Linked DNA regions of Homo sapiens: regions 1 and 2 are each linked to region 3. The links are contacts of gene promoters, found by promoter capture Hi-C in human tissues and cell types (Jung and others, 2019). All regions are on one chromosome and are shown on one strand. Each heading gives the region's core, a stretch centred on a gene start or on the middle of the fragment in contact. The rest is flanking DNA. Distances are from core to core; before and after follow the strand shown.

The links. The method cuts DNA at HindIII sites, captures the fragments that hold promoters and counts their contacts. A contact is called where the count stands out against the background at its distance.
Region 1: a fragment that was not itself captured here is called in contact with the fragment with the promoter of IL10RB in region 3 in 2 of the 25 tissues and cell types used here (IMR-90 fibroblasts and lymphoblastoid cells).
Region 2: a fragment that was not itself captured here is called in contact with the fragment with the promoter of IL10RB in region 3 in 1 of the 25 tissues and cell types used here (dorsolateral prefrontal cortex).

Annotation. Positions count from the first base shown.
Region 1 is chr21:32,971,019-32,975,230 of GRCh38, forward strand. No RefSeq gene overlaps it. Among named protein-coding and RNA genes, the nearest start is that of LINC01690, 14 kb to the left of the region's middle. The HindIII fragment of the contact is 4,875 bases long and covers 1-3,924 here.
Region 2 is chr21:32,773,347-32,778,128 of GRCh38, forward strand. The region is part of intron 1 of EPCIP-AS1 (EPCIP antisense RNA 1); the gene reads left to right. Among named protein-coding and RNA genes, the nearest start is that of EPCIP-AS1, 3.6 kb to the left of the region's middle. The HindIII fragment of the contact is 6,384 bases long and covers 1-4,782 here.
Region 3 is chr21:33,263,529-33,268,284 of GRCh38, forward strand. It overlaps IL10RB (interleukin 10 receptor subunit beta), which reads left to right and starts at 2,839. Exons shown (of 7, transcript NM_000628.5): 1 at 2,839-2,986. The coding sequence starts at 2,938. The region is part of intron 7 of IFNAR2-IL10RB (IFNAR2-IL10RB readthrough); the gene reads left to right. It overlaps IFNAR2 (interferon alpha and beta receptor subunit 2), which reads left to right. Exons shown (of 9, transcript NM_001289125.3): 9 at 1-2,136. IL10RB-DT (IL10RB divergent transcript) reads right to left here and starts at 2,732. Exons shown (of 2, transcript NR_038974.1): 1 at 2,535-2,732; 2 at 2,104-2,374. RefSeq lists enhancers at 2,355-2,414, 2,445-2,514 and a silencer at 2,685-3,094. The HindIII fragment of the contact is 10,877 bases long and covers 917-4,756 here.

The DNA of each region.
Region 1 (4,212 bases), core at 237-2,736, 290 kb before region 3:
TGGGAGGCAGAGGTTGCAGTGAGCTGAGATCGCGCCATTGCACTCCAGTCTGGGCAACAAGAGCGAAACCCCGTCTCAAAAAAAAAAAAAAAAAAAAAAAGAAATAGCTCCCAGTAGCATCTTCCCGCCTCCCCCTCTCCCCCCCGCCCCCCACCCCCACCCCCGCATATATCTGGGCCCCGACTTTGAGGGCATTCACACAAACAGCTCCATAGCAGCTGGTGGGCTGGGCCCAATTAGCCAGTGTGGGGCAAACGGAATGCACGATTGATGCAGAACCCTTGGAGAACGGGCCCTGAATCCAGGAGCCAAATGGTTCCTTGCACAGAGCGGAAAGGATTAGGGTGGGCGACCAGTTTGGGAGCAAGAAGCAGTATCCCACCAACATGCAAAGCCTTTTCTTTCTCTACACAACCCCACCATTGTCTATGACATAATGCTGTTCAGTGGCCTCCACTGCAACATTCAAGGCCCAGTCCTGTCTTCTGGGAACAACTCAGATATTAATTTTGAAAGCAGTGGGTGTCCTTCACACGCAGACTCTAAACAGATTCTCCATTCTACATGTAGAGGAAGAAATCGAGAATAATATTTTGCTTTTAAAAAAAAAATTTGGTGGCTGGTTCTTCTTGCTCTCCAAGAAAGCTTGTTTGGGAATATTAAAAAAACGAAGATGTACAGCTCCTCTCCTGGGTGAAAAGCACACAGTCCAAAGAGTCGTATTTGTCAGGCTCACAGGATGGGCGGGAGAGGAGGTGGGACTGGTGGGCGGTGGCTTTTCACCCTCTGTACCTAGGTTTATGGCCTTTCAGTATTTAGGGGAGCTATTTTTACATGTAGCTTGCTCCTATTTTTTTCTGATTGGAGTCTCTTTATTAAAAGAATTGTTTAATTTGAAATGAGTAACCCAAGTTACTCGGCAAGATATAAAGATTAAGAAAAGATAACAAGAGATGAATAAATGAGGTAGTGGAATTGCTTGATAACTGGAGTAGTGCCTTAGAAGCTCTCTCCCAAGTTAGAACTATTCTTTGTTGTTAAATGAAAGTTAAAATATGCCATTTTCAATGTAAATACATTTTTTCCCAGATTCATACTATCCTATATTACAATTGTTTTCATTTCTTCATCATAAGAAATCATCACTTTGGAGTTTTATTTATGTATGTCCTGTTTTCACATCATTTTGACAGTCCTGTAGATATGCTATGTTTTTCCTCACAGCCCTAATTATATATCATCTTTATCATTTTTAGTAAATAGATAATATCCCATTACACCAATGTTCCATAATTTGTTATCTGTTGCCCTTTGCTAAGACTTTGGTTATTTTCAGCTTTTCACTCCCACAAATAACACTGCTATAAATATATCAATGCATACACCATTTCTCCTTTTAAATTGCTTTCTTGAAATAAATTCCAAAGAATGAGATTACAGGGTCAAAGAGTACTAACATTTTTATGACCTTTGACCCGCATTGATTGCCAAATGCCCTCAAAAGGCATTGTACCAGTTTTCAAAGAATGATATATCTGCTTTCCCCACAGGCTCATCAGGCATTGAGTTATAGGGTTTTCCTGTATTTTTATTTCTTCAGTCTCAATGGGTTGAGATTAAACTATATGCCCATTGGAGAATTATTATAAGTAGCTATACAATTCATTGATTACTTAATAATGCTTAGGATACAACAGAAAGGAAAATAAAGCAGAAAAAAAACAAGCCAAATTAAATTCTTTCTCAGTTGTGTTAAATGCCTTTGTATATTGAATATCTGTGAGCATGCTAAGCTTCAACACTGAGAACAAAGAAATCAGTTCTGAAACAACTAGAATAACATCAGCACACCAGAGTCAGATAACTTAGTTTTCATTTCATAAATACATTCACACACTCACAAAGCTCTAAACTTTGTTAGAAGAGTGAGCCTAAGAGAAACAAATGCTTACTTGTGTTATCAATGCCTAAAGCACTGATTTTGAGCAGCAAAGATTTGACTCTCTCTGACCTCTTGCAAAGATGTCCAATTATTTCACAGTTGTTCTTCTGCTTTTCCTCTCTGTCTCAAGCTATCTTGAATAGGGAAAGAGTGAAAAAAGGAGTAAAAGTAAAATAACAGGGGCAAGAGTCTCTCGTTCCTTTTGTGAATTTTGCCTTCGGCTTGGTTCTGTTTTCTGGAAAATACTATGCAAACATGGAAATGGGTAAGTTGTCTGTCAATGCACTTTGCAGATGGCATGGATAAATGAAGAAAGCCCTGAATATCTAATTCTTTGTGACCAGCTCTGTTCAAATACAGTTCCTTCAACATTTCATATAAGTGATGCCTTAGGATTTCTGTAACACACGGTTTGCACAGCGTAGACATACTATGAGAGTCTATGGGATGGATGTTTGAGTCAAATGTGGCACGTTCATAGACCACTTGGAGTATACAATCAAAGATCCAAAGAAAACTATTGGTGTCATGGAAACCTTGCTCTTTGGGAAGTAAATCCACTCCAACTGAATGGGCATCCCTTCCTTTCTCAGCCCCACCATATCAGGAAGAGTGTACTTGGTGTTTATAGCTATGAGTGCCTGAAAAACAAGAACAGGTAGATTTGTATGTTAAGGCCCCATATTGATATTGGAAAAATACAAACCAGGAAGTGCAAATGTTAGCTTGGATCTGCTCTTACCTCCCATCACCACCACCCACAAAGAAGAGAAGAAAAAGAGCCAGAAAATGCACCCAGAGCCATCAGAAAAGTAAGGGAGGGATATTTTTATTTAGTACCAAACCCGAAGAGAGGGCAGCAGGTGCGGTGGCTCATACCTGTAATCTCAGCACTTTGAGAGGCTGAAGAGGGTGGATTGCTTGAGCCCATGGGGTTCAAGATGAGCCTGGGCAACAAAGTGAGACTCTGTTTCTCTAAAAAATAAAAATAAAAAATTAGCCAGGCATGCTGGTGTATGCCTGTAGTCCCAGCTCCTCAGGAGGCTGGGAGGTGGGAGAATCACTTGAGCCCGGGAAGTCAAGGCTGCAGTAAGCCATAGTCTCGCCACTGCACTCCCACCTGGGTAACAGAGTGAGACTCTGTCTCAAAAAACAAAGCAAAACAAAAACCACCCGGAAGCAGGTATCCTTTGAGTTCCTGTGACTGAACCAGTTCATTGCTGACTTGTTTGTGGCTGTGAGTCGCCTCAGTCTTGCTTGCTGCTGGACTGTGCCATTGATGGTGACCCCCATGGGGGCAGGCTGGGGTCAGGCTGGAGTCCTTCAGCCCTTCTGGGGAGCTGCTGCTTTCTAGCCAAACCAGGGGGTTAGTGGAAGGGTGGAAAGGTCAAGTAACTAAGAAGGGTGAACTAGAGAAAGACGTGGCAATTTGCCAGAGTGGTCCCTTCATTTAGAGTAAGGAATTGTGTGAGTGAGGGGCCTGCAGGCTGGTAAACAGCTTGTCCATCTCCAGAGAGGACCCACCAGTGTCAATGGCCGATTGAGAACAGGGCACCTCGCTGATAGTCACAGAGACGACCAAGACTGGAATTTCAAGTGGAATTTCTCCAAACCATGTTGGAACACTCATGAATCTGACTTGCACATCAGGCTGGGAAGTCATCTAGCCCCAAAGCTATGTCCTTGGGGAAGGGGAAGGCTGAAGGCTGAAAGAGAGAAACTTCCCACTCATCACCATATCCCCAATATCCAGTCTCTTCCTATCTCCCTCTCCAGCAAAATCAGCTGCTCCTTCCCCTAGCCTTGAAGAGCACCCTGTACATACTTCTCTGGCGCACTCAGCCCATTGTATACTAACGTGTTTCCATGCTATCTTCCCAGCTGGGGCATGAGTTCATCAGTGTATTCCAGCACATCTGGGTTCACATTCCAACTCCTGTCTCCTAATAGCTATGTGACTTGAACAAGCCACTTCTCTGAGACCTTTGTTTCCTTGTCCATCATGTGCTAATAAAAGAGTCTACCTGATTGGATAGCTGGGTGGATCATATGAGCTTCTACAAAATGCTCAGGTTTATCCTCATCATCCACTGGGCAATTTCTAGCCCAGAGCACAGCACCCTAATAGATATGCTCGGTAAAGGACATTCCAGCTAACGAATGGTTCTCGGGCACTGTGGGTAAGCATGGGGTTATGGCTGGACAGTGTCACTGGGCACTTGGTAGATTAGGAATTTCTTTTCTGGACCTTGGAAAGCACCACTGAAACC
Region 2 (4,782 bases), core at 1,654-4,153, 490 kb before region 3:
ACAGGCGTGAGCCACCGCGCACGGCCGTCTATTTTTTTTTTTAACCCACCTGCGTAGTGATTCATTGTTGGGATATACCGTAATTTATTTAACCAGTTCCATAAACATTGATATTTAGATTATTTCTAGTCTTAATCAGTGCTGTAATGAAAAGCTTTGAAAAACTGTTACATCTGTAGGATGAAATAGAATTGAAATTGCTAGATCTCAATATATGCATTTATGATTTTGCTAATTCTAAATTTCTTTTTATAGAAGTTATGCAGTTTGCACTTATATCAGCAAACATTAGGATGCCTGTTTGCCCACACCATCCTGTAGAAATTTCAGTAAGATTTAAATTCCAGGTTGAAGTGGAAGATCCCGAGCACTCCAAGCATTTCTTTTTATTTTATTTATTTATTTATTTATTATTTGTTTGAGACGGAGTCTTGCTCTATGGCCCAGACTGGAGTGCGGTGGCACGATCTCAGCTCACTGCAACTTCTGTCTCCCATGTTCAAGCTATTGTCATGTCTCAGCCTCCCGGGTAGCTGGGATTACAGGCATCTGGCACCACACCCGGCTAATTTTTGTATTTTTGTTTTGTTTTGTTTTGTTTTTTAAGACGGAGTCTTGCTCTTCTCGCCCAGGCTGGAGTACAATGGCACGATCTCAGCTCACTGCAACCTCTGCCTCCTGTGTTCAAACGATTCTCTTGCCTCAGCCTCCCGAGTAGCTGGGATTACAGGCACCTGGCACCACACCTGGCTAATTTTTGTATTTTTAGTAGAGACGGGGTTTTGCCACGTTGGCCAGGCTGGTCTCAAACTTCTGACCTTGTGATCCGCCTGCCTCGGCCTTCTGAAGTGCTGGGATTAAGGCATGAGCCACCACACCCGGCCTAATTTTTATATTTTTAATTAGATTTGACATGTGCACAACTAGGACTCAGTTTTGGAGCTAAGAGCATCCTCTATAACATTAACATTTTCTTCTAGTTAATAGGAAGGGTTAATAACATCTGGCTTCCATTCTACTTATGTTACTCTCAGTTCTTATATTCTGGCTGTTCAGCATTGGTGTAAGTTCTGATTCCAACAGTGTTTCACTAGTGAAATTGAACTCCCTTTTCTAATCATAGAAGATTCAAATTGTGCCTGATCAGCCTCCAGACACCTGAGCCAAGAGAAAGATTTGCAGTAAAATAATTAGGGTAGAGGTAGCAAAGACAAGGTCCAGAAGCCAAATATGTTATTATGGTGGCCTGAAATTTCAAAAATTTCTCCCAGTGTAAAAGTGGTGATTGGATATGGATAGAGGGAAGAGTACCTCTCATTTTAAAGTAAGCCACAATACAATCACTTGTCACTTGACGGGGATACATTCTGAGAAATATGCCATTAGGCAATTTCATCACATACTTACACAAACCTAGTGGTGTAGCCTACTACATACCTAGGCTGTATGGCATAGCTTATTGCTTCTAGGCTACAAACCTATACGGCATGTTACTGTACTGAATACTGTAGCACTTGTAACACAATGGTATCTGTATCTAAACATAGAAAAGATACAGTAAAAATACAGCATAAAAGCTTTAAAAATGGTGCACCTGTATAGGACACTTACCAGGAATGGAGCTTACAGGACTGGAGGTTGCTCTGGGTGAGTCAGTGAGTGAGTGGTAAGTGAATATGAAGGCCTAGGTTATTACTGTACACTGCTGTAGATTTTATAAACAACTGTACACTTAGGCTACACTAAATGTTTAAACATATTTCTTTCTTCAATAATAAATAGCTTACTATAACTTTTTTACTTTATAAGCTTTCTTATTTTTTAAAACTTTTTTGTTGTTATTGTTTTGTTTTGTTTTTGTTTTTTGAGATGGAGTCTCACTCTGTCACCCAGTCTGGAGTGCAGTGGCGCGATCTCAGCTCACTGCAACCTCCACCTCCCAGGTTCAAGCAATGAGACAGAGTCTCACTCTATCCCCAGGCTGGAGTGCAGTGGCGTGATCTCAGCTCACTGCAACCTCTGCCTCCCAGGTTCAAGCAATCCTCCCACCTCAGCTTCCCAAGTAGCTGGGATTATAAGCGTGCACCACCATGCCCAGTTAATGTTTGTATTTTTAGTAGAGATGATCCGCACACCCCACAAGCTCCTGTGTTGGCCAGGCTGGTCTTGAACTCCTGACCTCAAGTAATCTGCCCACCTCGGCCTCCCAAAGTTCTGGGATTGCAGGCATGAGCCAACGTGCCCAGACATTTTTTAAAACTTCTTGACTTTTTTTTTTTTTTTTTTGAGACAGAGTTTTGCTCTTGTTGCCCAGGCTGGAGTGCAGTAGTGCAACCTCAGCTCACCGCAACCTCTGCATCCAGGGTTCAAGAAGTTCTCCTGCCTCAGCCTCCTGAGTAGCCGGGATTACAGGCATGCACCACCACGCCCAACTAATTTTGTATTTTTAGTAAAGACAAGGTTTCTCCATGTTGGTCAAGGCAGTCGCAAACTCCCGACCTCAGGTCGTCCACCTGCCTCAGCCTCCCAAAGTATTGGGATTACAGGCGTGAGCCATCGTGCCCGGCATAACACTTTGCTTAAAAAAATACACATTTACAGCTGCACAAAAATATCTTCTATTTTTACCATTTTAATTATTTTGTTTTACTTTTTAAACTTTAAAGCTAAGACACAAACACACACATCAGCCTAGGCCTACGCAAGGTCAGGATTATCAGTGTCACTGTCTTCCACTTCCACATCTTGTCCCACTGGAAGGTCTTCAGGAAAAATAACAAACATGGAGCTATCATGTCCTATAAAAACAATATCTTTTTCTGGAATACCTCCTGAAGGACCTGCCTGAGGCTCTTATATACTTAACTTTTTTTTTTGTAAGTAAAAAGAGTGCGCTCTAAAATAACAGTAAAAAGTATAGTATAGGCGTCCCCAACCACCTCCCACCCCTGCAGGAGGCAAGTGGCCAAAGGTAGACATTGTTCTCTCTCTTTTTTTAAGTTTATTTTTAAAATGTTAGAAGCCACAAAGCCAATAAATATGTAAAAAATATTCTATATACATTAGCTGATGTCTTAGTCCATTTGGGCTGCTACAACAAAATACCATTAATTGGGTGACTTATAAACAACAAATTTATTTCTCACAGCTCTGGATGCTGGGAAATCCAAGGTTAAGGCACTGGCAGATTTGTGTTCCGGTGAGGGTCTGCTTCCTGGTTCATAGATGGTACCTTCTAGCTGAGTCCTCACATGGTGGAAGGGAGACAACTGTGGTTTCTTCAGCTTCTTACCAGGGCACTAATCCCATTCATAAGGGCTCCACCTTTGTGACCTAGTCACATTCCAGCATCTCTACCTCCTCTGCTATCACACTGGGGATTAGTGTTTCAATATATACATTTGGGGGGAAGATAAATAGCTGGGCCTTAACAACTGATGAGGCCTCACTAAATATGCGAGAAATAAGATAAAGCAGGGGTCCCCAACCTCCAGGCCACAGACTGGTACCAGTCAGTGGCCTGTTAGGAACCGAGCTGCACAAGAGGAGGTGAGCGGCGGGTGAGCAAACAAAGCTTCATCTGTATTTGCAGCCACTCTGCATCACTCGCATTACCACCTGAGCTCTGTCTCCTGTCAGATCTGCAGCAGCATTGGATTCTTACAGGAACACGAACCCTATTGTGAACTCTGCACATGAGGGATCTAGCTTGTGCACTCCTTATGAGAATCTAATGCCTGATGACCTGTCACTGTCTCCCATCACCCCCAGATGGGACCATCTGGTTGCAGGAAAACAAGCTGAGGGCTCCAACTGATTCTACATTATGGTGAATTGTATAATTATTTCATTATATATTACAATGTAATTGTAATAGAAATAAAGTACACAGTAAATGTAATGCATTTGAATCATCCTCAAACCATCCTCCACCCCCTAGTTCATGGAAAAATTGTCTTCTATGAAACCAGTCCCTGGTGTCAAAAAGGTTGGGGACTACTGGTATAGCAAATACATAAACCAGTAACATAGTCATTTATTATCATTATGGAGTTTTATGTGGTATATGTAATTGTATGTGCTATACTTTTATACCACTGAAACAGAGGTTTCTTAATACCAGCATCACCACACACATGAGTAATGTATTGTGCTACAGTATTATGATTGCTATGATGTCACTAGATGATAGGAATTTTTCAGCTCCATTGCAATCTTTTTTTTTTTTTTTTTTTGAAACAGAGTGTAGCTCTGTTGCCCAGGCTAGAGTGCAGTGGTGCAATCTCTGCCTCCAAGTTCAAGCGATTCTTGTGCCTCAGCCTCCTGAGGAGCTGGGATTACAGGCACGTGCCACCACACATGACTATTTTTGGAATTTTTAGTAGAGACGAGCTTTCACCATTTGGCCAAGCTGGTCTCGAACTCCTGACCTCAGGTCATCCGCCTGCCTCACCCTCCCAAAGTGCTGAGATTACTGGCATGAGCCACGGCGCCTGGCCGCATTGCAATCTTATGGGACCACCACCATATATGCAGTCCATCATTGATCAAAACATCATTATGCAGTGCATGGTTGTATTCAGATACAACAGATTTATTTATAACTTTGCCAGTCTACCTATTTATATAGTTAAAGAGCAAAGTTAAACATTTAAAAGTTATCTTACTGCCCAAGCAAGCCAAAGGTTCTTCTATCAGAAGTTATAGAGATTGTGGAAATTAAATTCCTGAAATTGAATAGCTACCTTAACTGCCTGTCAGCTGGTATATTATCAGAAACTA
Region 3 (4,756 bases), core at 1,589-4,088:
GACAAGCACCTACAGGGTTCTTTGTCTCTGCATCCTAACTTGCTGCCTTATCGTCTGCAAGTGTTCTCCAAGGGAAGGAGGAGGAAACTGTGGTGTTCCTTTCTTCCAGGTGACATCACCTATGCACATTCCCAGTATGGGGACCATAGTATCATTCAGTGCATTGTTTACATATTCAAAGTGGTGCACTTTGAAGGAAGCACATGTGCACCTTTCCTTTACACTAATGCACTTAGGATGTTTCTGCATCATGTCTACCAGGGAGCAGGGTTCCCCACAGTTTCAGAGGTGGTCCAGGACCCTATGATATTTCTCTTCTTTCGTTCTTTTTTTTTTTTTTTTTTGAGACAGAGTCTCGTTCTGTCGCCCAAGCTGGAGCGCAATGGTGTGATCTTGGCTCACTGCAACATCCGCCTCCCAGGTTCAAGTGATTCTCCTGCCTCAGCCTCCCTCGCAAGTAGCTGGGATTACAGGCGCCTGCCACCATGCCTAGCAAATTTTTGTATTTTTAGTAGAGACAGGATTTTACCATGTTGGCCAGGCTGGTCTCAAACTCCTGACCTCAAGTGATCTGCCCTCCTCAGCCTCGTAAAGTGCTGGGATTACAGGGGTGAGCCGCTGTGCCTGGCTGGCCCTGTGATATTTCTGTGAAATAAATTGGGCCAGGGTGGGAGCAGGGAAAGAAAAGGAAAATAGTAGCAAGAGCTGCAAAGCAGGCAGGAAGGGAGGAGGAGAGCCAGGTGAGCAGTGGAGAGAAGGGGGGCCCTGCACAAGGAAACAGGGAAGAGCCATCGAAGTTTCAGTCGGTGAGCCTTGGGCACCTCACCCATGTCACATCCTGTCTCCTGCAATTGGAATTCCACCTTGTCCAGCCCTCCCCAGTTAAAGTGGGGAAGACAGACTTTAGGATCACGTGTGTGACTAATACAGAAAGGAAACATGGCGTCGGGGAGAGGGATAAAACCTGAATGCCATATTTTAAGTTAAAAAAAAAAAAAGCAAACACAAAGATGCTTCAAGATCTTCAGGAGAAGTATGGTATACAAGTTTCAGGGACCCTATTTGACAATTTTCAGAGTGCTCTCTATGCTGATTCCGAGTCGAGTGTGTCAGCTGTGATTACAGTGCCTGTGGATCTAGGCCGGGTTGGGGGGGTGTGGGCGGGGGAAGGGAAGTCTGGCCCGGAGCAATTGCTCCTGCCGGTAACCCCAGCACTTTGGGATGCCTAAACAGGCGTATCGCTTGAGGCCAGTAATTCGAGACCAGCCTGGGCAACATGGCAAATCTGTCTCTACAAAACAAAATTAGAAAAATTAACTGGGCGTAGTGGCATGTGCCTGTTGTCCCAGCTACTTGGGAGGCTGAGGTGGGAGAATGGCTTGAGCCCAGGAAGCGGAGGTTGCAGTGAGCCAAGATCATGTCACTGCACTTCAGCCTGGGTGACAGAACCAGACCCTGTCTTTAAAAAGGGAGTTGGTGGGGAGAGGTTCTAGAATGTCATGTAGCAACCAGTTTAAGGACTGGGACTCAGGGATCCAACTCCCACAGTTTCCCTGTGTGACCCTAGGCATTTGACTTAGCCTTTCTGAGCCTCAGGTTTTTTGTTTCTGAAGTAAAAGGATTGGACTAGGTAATCTCCAAGATCCTAGGAACCCAGGAGAAAGATGAGAAAATGTACAAGAATGAACACTCAGGTGGAAATGCTGCAATCCTGAGAAGCTCCCAGGATGAATGAAAGGCACAGGACCTCTTACCCCTCACCCCTGCCCCCCTCAAGAGCTGGTTTCTCAAACCTTTCTCTTAGGCCCCTTCAAAGGGGGAAAACTAAAAATTATACAAGTTATAGTTCAAGGACTTTAAATAGATTATTTATATGATTGCTCATAAGGATGAGGCTGTGAGGAGGGAACACCTTATTTAATCTAATGAAATTCCATAGGAAAGAGGCCTTTTGTATATTGAATCAATTTATCTGCCTTCTCAGTGCATCTGTCATATTCTGAAAGATTCTGGGTTGATCTTTTGCGATAACCTCTATGGCTGTGAGTGTGTGTGTGTGTTTGTGTATTTTTTAACATTTTGTATAATGATTGGAGGTTGGTAAAAAGTAACACAACAGTACTTTTTTAATACAAACTTGGTGTGGTCTTGAGTTGTCTTCCATTGGAGAGCGTACGTGTGCCACAGATTGGTGCACCTGCCGGCATCTCTAGGATTGCACCAACTCCCTCTAGCTCTTCTTGGTGGCCTGCAGGGGCCTAGGGCGCATTCACTTCCCTCTGCTTGACTTTACGTGGTGTTCTAGCGTCAGACATCAGGCGATGCCGTGCATTACCCAAGACACTGGACAGCTCCGGATCTTCCCGTCTAACCACTAATCAAGTTAAAAAGAGGAAATTAACGCTTTCTTAGTAGTCTCTGAAAGAAACTAGTTATTTGCGTAAAGATGACTTGGTTTTGTGTTGTTTATCCCTGGGGAGAAGGGTAAAGAAGACCCTCAAACTGGATTTGCTGCTGAAGTGCTTTTAACTCACCTGTGCGGAGAGCGGACTTCAAGAGAGGGCGTGCCGGTGCTCCGGACAAAACCTGGGGAATACTGAAAGCCACCACCACCACCGTCATTCCAGCATGCAGATCTCAGTCCTGGGTTGGTGTTGTAGGGCATTTATTTATTTGACTTGACGGCGCCTTTCAAAGCTTGCGAGGATCCCTTCCTCTTCCTCGTGTGCATCTGCCAAGCCTGTGCCCCGCGCCTCGCGGGTGGACCCGGGCTGGTGGGCGGGGCCTGCAGCGGGGTGGGAGCCCGGTCGCCCGGCCCCTCCCCACCCCGCCCCGCCCATCTCCGCTGGTTCCCGGAAGCCGCCGCGGACAAGCTCTCCCGGGCGCGGGCGGGGGTCGTGTGCTTGGAGGAAGCCGCGGAACCCCCAGCGTCCGTCCATGGCGTGGAGCCTTGGGAGCTGGCTGGGTGGCTGCCTGCTGGTGTCAGGTGAGGGGTCCGCGGGGAGGGGGCGCGCTTGGGAACCGGGAGGCCCCGCGAGATGCCGCCCCTGATCCCATCCCTGGGCGCCCTGCAAGTGACTTAAGAGCCTTCGGGGCCTCGGGAGAGAAGATGCAAACGCCACGGCCGGCTGCTGAGACGCAACTAGGCTGCTGCTGCCGTCGATTCTGTAACAGGAGAAAGCCCCATCCGCGCCCGGATTACAGACCGTCTGGGCCCTAAACTCAGGGGGAGACTCCCGGCGTCTTTTGATTCCCTGTCCTCCTGCAGCTCTCTGCTGGCGGGCGTCTAAATAAAGTAGCTTCCCCAAAAGACCCAAGATCCCACCGTGGCTGTCATCTGACCCTTCTGGAGACTATCAGTTCAAGTGGAGGCCCCCACCAGTCCCCGAGTGCCCTGACAGCCCTCCCTGACCCCAAGTCTGCCCCCTCAGTGCCAGCCCTCCCTACAGATGTGCCTCCCATCACCCGCTGCACCTCCCCTCCTTCCGGTTCAGGCCCGAGCACCCTGAAATCTGGATTCTGTCCCCCAGCGCCCCAGCTCCATGGCTTCTAAACCTAAATCCATTGAAACCTTTTCTGTCCTCTAAATTGACTGCCTAGGTTCCAATAACACCATGGTCACCTCCTTCCTTTCTCATGAACTCTTCCCTGGCCTTCCGGGATACCCCTCCGGTTTCCCGCCCTGTCAGGCTGTCTCTGCTTGGGACCCTCCTGCTCTGTCAGGTTTCTATGTAGCTAATTGTGATGCCCAAGGCCTTTTCTCTCCTTCCCTGGCACTGTTCCTTTGGGGGATTTCAGCCAAACCCTGGCATTAAACACGGGCTATAGGCCCATGACTCGCACATTTATATCTCTCTTGGTACCAGTTGGGTGATGGGTGGTGGTTTATTATAGTCTTCTACTTTTCTACTTGCATGTAGGTTTCAAATTTTCTTTTCTTTCTTTCTTCTTCCGTTTTTTTTTTTGTTTGTTTGTTTTTTTGTTTTTTTGTTTTTTTTTGAGACAGGGTTTTGCTCTGTTGCTGTGGCCCAGGCTGGAGTGCAGTGGCTTGATCTTGCCTCACTGCCACCTCCGCCTCCCGGGTTCAAGCGATTTTCCTCCCTCAGCCTCCCGAGTAGCTGGAATTACAGGTGTGTGCCACTACGCCTGGCTAATTTTTGTATTTTTATTGGAGATGGGGTTTCGCCATGTTGGCCAGGCTGGTCTCGAACTCCTGACCTCAGGTGATTCACCTTCCTCAGCCTCCCAAAGAGCTGGGATTACAGGCGCGAGCCACCATGCCTGGCCAGGTTTCGAATTTTCTATTAAAAGGTTTGAAAATAATTTCTGTCTCTAGCCCACATCTCTTCTTGGTGTGACCTCTGGGCTCATTCATCTGGCTGTCTCCCTGACATTCCTACTTCAGCCTCTCTCCAGCATCTCCAACCTAATGCAGCTCAAATGGGACTCGTGAGTTCCCCAGCTGAGCTCCAATCGGGGCACCAGCTGCTTAAGCCCAAAATGGACATTGACCTCAGCTTTTATGCATCAAATGTATCAGGAAGTCTCCAGTTTGTTTTTACGTCTGGAAATATATCTGAAATCCATGTGCCCACCCTACCCCCTCATAGCTTTCTGCCACCAGACAAATCCAAGGCTCCTTTGTCTGTCCCCATTTTACTCCTGCCCCTCCAGAAATTTCTCCTCACGGCTGTTCAAAGAAAATCTAGACTCCTCAGCACAGCCAACCTGTCTCTCCCTCCCTCACCCACGTGGC